Regions from separate parts of the Homo sapiens genome. Here region 2 is linked to region 1. The links are contacts of gene promoters, found by promoter capture Hi-C in blood cells and fetal thymus (Javierre and others, 2016). All regions are on one chromosome and are shown on one strand. The core of a region is centred on a gene start or on the middle of the fragment in contact, and the rest is flanking DNA. Distances in the headings are between cores, read along the strand shown. Region 1 holds the start of FBLN7 (fibulin 7). Region 2 has its middle 18 kb from the start of RGPD8.

Evidence for each region. The method cuts DNA at HindIII sites, captures the fragments that hold promoters and counts their contacts. A CHiCAGO score of 5 or more calls a contact.
Region 2: a fragment that was not itself captured here is called in contact with the fragment with the promoter of FBLN7 in region 1 in 7 of 17 cell types (M1 macrophages, naive CD4 T cells, endothelial precursors and 4 more); the score reaches 7.1 in M1 macrophages.

The regions. Positions count from the first base shown.
Region 1 is chr2:112,136,473-112,139,938 of GRCh38, forward strand. It overlaps FBLN7 (fibulin 7), which reads left to right and starts at 1,913. Exons shown (of 8, transcript NM_153214.3): 1 at 1,913-2,258. The coding sequence starts at 2,184. The HindIII fragment of the contact is 8,502 bases long and covers 1,592-3,466 here.
Region 2 is chr2:112,449,782-112,453,247 of GRCh38, forward strand. No RefSeq gene overlaps it. Among named protein-coding and RNA genes, the nearest start is that of RGPD8, 18 kb to the left of the region's middle. The HindIII fragment of the contact is 707 bases long and covers 1,228-1,934 here.

The DNA.
Region 1 (3,466 bases), core at 663-3,162:
TGTAAACACAAGGTGGGATAGGACACAAAATATTAATAAATGCAGCCACACTGACCAGGAGGAAGCTTTTCAAGGATAGGGCAGAGGACAGAGAGACAGAGAGGGAGCAGGGCACTGGCTTTTGGTACAGACAGCAAACACATGAGAGATCGAGGCAGAAAACCACCATCTCCACAGGCTGCCCTGGATCGGGCCATGCTGTCCCGTCCTCTCCACCTGGATAGGGAGAAGCAGGGGTATGACCATGTCTCTCTTCAGGATGTTCAACCAGGAATGCAAAATAAAATTACATGGATCCCTTGCAGGCTGCAGTGGCTCACACCTATAATCCCAGCACTTTGGGAGGCTGAGGCGGGTGGGTCATTTGAGGTCAGGAGTTCAAGACAAGCCTGGCCAACATGGTGAAAACCTGTCTCTACTAAAAATACAAAAATTAGCTAGGCGTGGTGGTGCATGCCTGTAGCCCCAGCTGCTTGGGAGGCTGAGGCAGGAGAATTACTTGAACCAGGGAGGCAAGGCTGCAGTGAGCTGAGATCAGGCCACTGCACTCCAGCCTAGGCAACAGAGCAAGACGCCGTCTCAAAGAAAAAAAAGATTTACATGGGTCCCGTTCCACCTCCTTTGCATGGGAAGGTTGGGGGAGCAGCACTGTAGGATTTCCTGGGCAACCAATGCCCAGGAGGCCAGCCTAAACCATGTCCCCTGCTTTTTGGGGCACTGGCTAGGTTCTGAATGTTGGTGTCTCCCCTAAATTTATATGTTGGAAACCTCATTCCCAAGATGATGGCATTAGGAGGTGGGACCTTTGGGAGGTGACTAGGTCATGAGTGCAGAGCCCTCAAAATTGGGATTAGTGCCCTCAGAAAAGAGGCCCCAGAGAGCTGCCTTTCCCCTGTGAGGACACGGGAACCAGAACTCTGGCCCTCGCCAAACACCTAATCTATTGACACCTTGATCTTGGACCTCCCAGTCTCCAGAACTGTGAGAAACACGTTCTATTGTTTATAAGCCACTCAGTTTATGGTATTTTGCTATAGCAGTTTGAAGGGACTAAGCCAGGACTCCAGCTTTCCTTTCTGGCCTCTGCTGGGAAACAGCTCCTGCTCTGTGGTCACAGTCTTGTGGGCTCCCCGTTCCCTGAGCTCTGAGTGGGCTCAACAAAGTGAAATGTGGAAGAGGAAAAAGAGATCTGGGGCTTGACCAGACTTGTGTGTCCCAGGACATCTGCAGTGACTGCCTTCAGAAAACCTTCCAGGAAGAACGTCAGTCATGCCTTCCGGGAGCTCAGGTCTGAGGCATCTGGTTGTACCACAGCCCTGATGGCAGGGGACTTCAGACTGCTCATGCCGGCCTGGCACTTCCTGATTCGACTTCAGCAAGGCAGGCAATGTTCTAGAACCTGACCTCCGATTTAAACTGAGTTTCTCCTTCCCTTGAGCAAGGAGGACAGTGAATCAGAAGGACGTAGATCCCCTCACTGTATCACTGTGTGTGTATCTACTCACTGTGCGTGCGTGTTCTCACGGCCCCATTGCATTATTTAAAGGGACACTAGTTTATTCGGATGGAGAGCTCAGTCCACCCCACGTCAAGCTTATGAAGCCCATTTCCTGGCCCCCTTCTAGGAATGTCGGGAGGAGGGTGTCGCGTGGGCTTTGAAGTAGGACAGACCTGGGTTTGGGTTTCTGTTCTGCCACTTGTCCTTGGTGACTGAGCCTCAGTCTACTTGGTTGGGAAATAGGACGGTCGGGAGTGAACCCGCCCAGGGTGGGCTTCCAGTCACCCGCACATATGCGGGGCACTGGCCGCCCATCCCTGCCAGGCCCCGAGGATGCCCGCGCTCGTCCTCGGCGTCGCGGGTTGGGCGCGCTCCCGGGCGCATTCCCGGCCGGGCAGCCCCTCCTCCCTCGTCCTTAGCCCAGGGGCCGGCGCCTCCCCGCCTCGCGCGGACTGTCTCGTGCGGGCAGCTGCGGGCGCACCTGGACCCTCGCAAGGCCCGGGCGGCGCCGATCCCCGCGGGACGCGCTGCGCTCGGGGCCTCCCGCCTCCCCCCCTGCCCCAGCCGCCCCCCGGCCGCGCGGCGCCCCGCACCCTGCAGGGACGGCTGCCGCATCGCTGGGACAAACTCGGCAGCGGAGGCAAAGTTATTTCCCCTCCCAGGCAGCGGGATTCCGACTGGCAAGATGGTGCCCAGCTCTCCGCGCGCGCTCTTCCTTCTGCTCCTGATCCTCGCCTGCCCCGAGCCGCGGGCTTCCCAGGTCAGTGTCCCTCCCGCCTCTCTCCAGGCCAGTGTCCCTCCCGCCTCTCTCCAGGCCAGTGTCCCTCCCGCCTCTCTCCAGGCCAGCGTCCCTCCCGCCTCTCTCCCCTGTCCCTCCCGCCTCTCTCCCCTGTCCCTCCCGCCTCTCTCCAGGTCAGTGTCCCTCCCGCCTCTGTCCCCTGTCCCGCGCGCCTCTCTCCACGCCAGTGTCCCTCCCGCCTCTCTCCAGGCCAGCGTCCCTCCCGCCTCTCTCCAGGCCAGCGTCCCTCCCGCCTCTCTCCAGGTCAGCGTCCCTCCCGCCTCTCTCCAGGCCAGCGTCCCTCCCGCCTCTCTCCAGGTCAGCGTCCCTCCCGCCTCTCTCCAGGCCAGTGTCCCTCCCGCCTCTCTCCAGGCCAGCCAGTGTCCCTCCCGCCTCTCTCCACGCCAGTGTCCCTCCCGCCTCTCTCCAGGCCAGTGTCCCTCCCGCCTCTCTCCAGGCCAGTGTCCTTCACGCCTCTCTCCAGGTCAGTGTCCCTCCCGCCTCTCTCCAGGCCAGCGTCCCTCCCGCCTCTCTCCAGGTCAGCGTCCCTCCCGCCTCTCTCCAGGCCAGCGTCCCTCCCGCCTCTCTCCACGCCAGTGTCCCTCCCGCCTCTCTCCAGGTCAGTGTCCCTCCCGCCTCTCTCCAGGCCAGTGTCCCTCCCGCCTCTCTCCAGGCCAGTGTCCCTCACGCCTCTCTCCAGGTCAGTGTCCCTCCCGCCTCTCTCCAGGCTAGTGTCCCTCCCGCCTCTCTCCAGGCCAGCGTCCCTCCCGCCTCTCTCCAGGTCAGCGTCCCTCCCGCCTCTCTCCAGGCCAGCGTCCCTCCCGCCTCTCTCCACGCCAGTGTCCCTCCCGCCTCTCTCCAGGCTAGTGTCCCTCCCGCCTCTCTCCAGGCCAGCGTCCCTCCCGCCTCTCTCCAGGTCAGCGTCCCTCCCGCCTCTCTCCAGGCCAGCGTCCCTCCCGCCTCTCTCCACGCCAGTGTCCCTCCCGCCTCTCTCCAGGTCAGTGTCCCTCCCGCCTCTCTCCACGCCAGTGTCCCTCCCGCCTCTCTCCAGGCCAGTGTCCCTCCCGCCTCTCTCCAGGCCAGTGTCCCTCCCGCCTCTCTCCACGCCAGTGTCCCTCCCGCCTCTCTCCAGGCCAGTGTCCCTCCCGCCTCTCTCCCCTGTCCCGCGCGCCTCTCTCCATGCCAGTGTC
Region 2 (3,466 bases), core at 331-2,830, 310 kb after region 1:
CCAGGCATGGTGGTGGGAGCCTGTAGTCCCAGCTACTCGGGATGCTGAGGCAGGAGAATCACTCGAACCCGGGAGGTGGAGGTTGCAGTGAGCCCGAGATTGCGCCACTACACTCCAGCCTGGGTGACAGAGTGAGACTGTGTCTCCAAAAAAAAAGGATGATTCAGAGGGCAAAAATAAGGAGTCCAGAGGATGGAGCCAAGAGCCATGGAGAATTATTTTTAGCAGGAATGAGACTGAGTTCTAAAATTTGGATTTCAGAATTGCTATGGACCAGTAACACCTGTGTGCCTCCTATTTGCCCCTTTTTTGTGTGTAGAGATTATCTTGTGCCTGTCCCACCATCGTATATTGGGTGATATGGTTTGGCTATTTTCCCAAGCAAATCTTGTCTTGAATTGTAGCTCCCGTAATACCTATATGTTGTGAGAGGGACCCAGTGGGAGATAATTGAATCATGGGGGCAATTTCCCCTATGCTGTTCTGGTGGTAGTGAATAAGTCACATGAGATCTGACGGTTTTATAACGGGTTTCCCCTTTCACTTGGCTCTCATTCTCTCTTTGTCTGTCACCATTTAAGACGTGGATTTACTCCCCCCGCTTGCCTTCCACCATGATTGTAAGGCCTCCCCAGCCCTGTGGAACTGTGAGTCAATTAAACGTCTTTCCTTTGTAAATTACCCAGTCTCAGGTATGTCTTTATTAGCAGCATGAGAACAGACTAATACATTGGGTGTGGGAGGTGGGCAGGTATCTCGTCTCTTTAGCTTCAGAAATCCACAGATCAATTGGAACTGTGCTTAAGGAGCTGTACTTGGGGAACTACACCTGATGTATCTCAACCATACCTGGACCTGATTTAGATGATGGGATTCTGGACTTAGAGCTGATGTTATGAGGTGAGGCTCTGGGGACTCTTGGAGAGTTGTAGATGTATTTGCCATGAGGGAGGGATGTGAATCACTGGGGACCAGAGAGCAGACTATGGTAGGCAGCTTCCTAGGATGGTCTCCAGTGATCTCCACTTCCTGGTATTCAACCTCTTGTGTAATCCCCTCCCCTTAAGTGTGGCCTGGACCTGTTGCTTGCTTTTCATGAATAGAATATGGAAAAAGTGATGGAATATTATTACTGGAAAGGGGTCCCGATCCAGACCCCAAGAGAAGGTTCTTGGATCTCACACAAAAAAAGAGTTCAAAGTGAATTCATAGAGTAAAGTGACAGCAAGCTTATTAAGAAAGTAAAGGAATAAAAGAATGGCTACTCCATAGGCAGAGCAGTGGTGTGGGCTGCTCGACTAAGAACACTTACGGTTCTTTCTTGATTATATGCTAAACAAGGGGTGGATTATTCATGAGTTTTCCAGGAAAGGGGAGGACAATTCCCAGAACTGAGGTTTCCTCCCCTTTTTAGACCATGCAGGGTAACTTCCAGACATTGCTAAGGCATTTGTAAACTGTCATGGCACTGATGGGAATGTCTTCTAGCATGCTAACGCATTATAATTCGTGGATAACGAGCAGTGAGAATGACCAGAGGTCACTTTCATTGCCATCTTGGGTTTGGTAGGTTTTGGCTGGCTTCTTTACTGCAAACTGTTTTATCAGCAAGGTCTTTGTACTTTGTGCTGATCTCCTATGTCATCCTATGACTAAGAATGCCTAACCTCCTGGGAATGCACCCCAATAGGTCTCAGCCTAATTTTACCCAGCCCCTATTCAATATGGAGTCGCTCTGGTTCAAACACCTCTGACAATATTACTTCAAAGATTAAGTTACAAAAGACTGTGGCTTTTTTCTTGCTTACCATCTCTTACCCTCTTTCTTGCTCACTGTAGTGAGGCCAGCAGGCATGTTGTAAACTGCCCAATGGAAAAGCCTATGTAGTAAGGAACCAAGAGAGGCTTCCAGCCAACAGCTTTTGAGGAATTGAAGCTTTAGTCTAATAACCCATGTAGAAACTGGCCAACAACCATGTGAGAGTGCTTGGAAGCTGATCTATCCCTAATCAAGCCTGAAGGTAACTGCAGCCCTGCTGACACCTTGACTGCAACCAGAGCCCAAGGATCCAGCTACGTTATGTCCAGATTCCTGACTCAAAGAATCTATGAGCTAATAAACGTAGGGGTTTTAAGCCACTAAGCTCTGGAGCAATTCGTTATGCAGCAACAGAGTGTGTAATAATTACCCTCAAACATAGCAGCTTAAAATAACAAGCATTTATTACCTCAGTTTCTGAGGATCAGGAATCCACCTGCAGCTTAGCTGGGTGGTTCTGGCTCAGAGTGTCTCACGAGGGTGTAGTCAAGCTATCCGCCTGAGCTGCAACATCTCAAGGCCTGACTGAGGCTGGAGAATCCACTTCCAAGCTCACTGTATGGTTGTTGGGAGGCCAGACACTCAGTTCTTTCCATATAGGTTTCTCCACAGGGCTACCTCACAACATAGCAACTGGCTTCCCCCAGAGCAAGTGGTCAGAGAGAGATCTCAAGACTGGCTGTCGTCTTTTTGTAATCTATTCTCAGACGTGACATGCTATCACTCTTGCCTATGATGTTGGACACACAGATTAAACTTAGTGTAACATGGGAGGGGACTACACAAGATTGTAAATACTAGGTGTCAGGGATTATTGGGGGCCATCTTGAAGGCTCATTACCAACTTCCTGTGTCCATTTCTCTTCTTCCCATTAGTTTTATCTAAGAATAGGCCAACCTGTCAGAGATTACGTTCTCTGGACTCCTTTTTAGCTAGATTGGTAGTGTGACTACATTCTGACTAAAGGCACACATATGGAATAAAGTCATGTGACTTTGGGGTTATGCCCTTAAAAAGGATTTTGTTTCTCTCCCCCATTTTTCTCTCATACCATGGGCTGGAACATAGGTATAGTGAGACTATGCAGGTAACACCCTAAGGGATGGCTACGAAAACAAAAAAGAATTTGGCTCCTTGAATTAACTCATAGGTTGCAGCAGCCTACATCACTTGGACATCCTGCCAGCTTTGGATTTTCAGAGAAATAAACCTATCTTATGTAAGTTCCTATACTTAATCATTTTTAGGTAGTTGAATCTCCTAAAAAAAACACTACAATCAGCCCACTATTGAACTGACCCAAGGATATTCAGACTACAGAATCCAGAGATAAATCAAGCACATTTCAGAATTTAATGTAAGACAATGGCACAGTATTTCAATTTAATGAGAAAATGATAGCTTATTAAATAAATTATCATGTTGATATTACCAGACAAGTTTACATAAACAAGAGACATCTTTCTGACTGTGATTCCAACCTTGCTGTCTAGTACAGTAATGATGCTCACCTTCCTCCTGACATTTAGGAGCTGTCATATGGCCCTTACTGTGCTGGGATCCTATGCTCCCCATTGCTAACAGGAAGTCCAGTTCTGTAACAGCATCCCCACCATTCTTCTTGACCTTCAGAAGACATTTGCTAC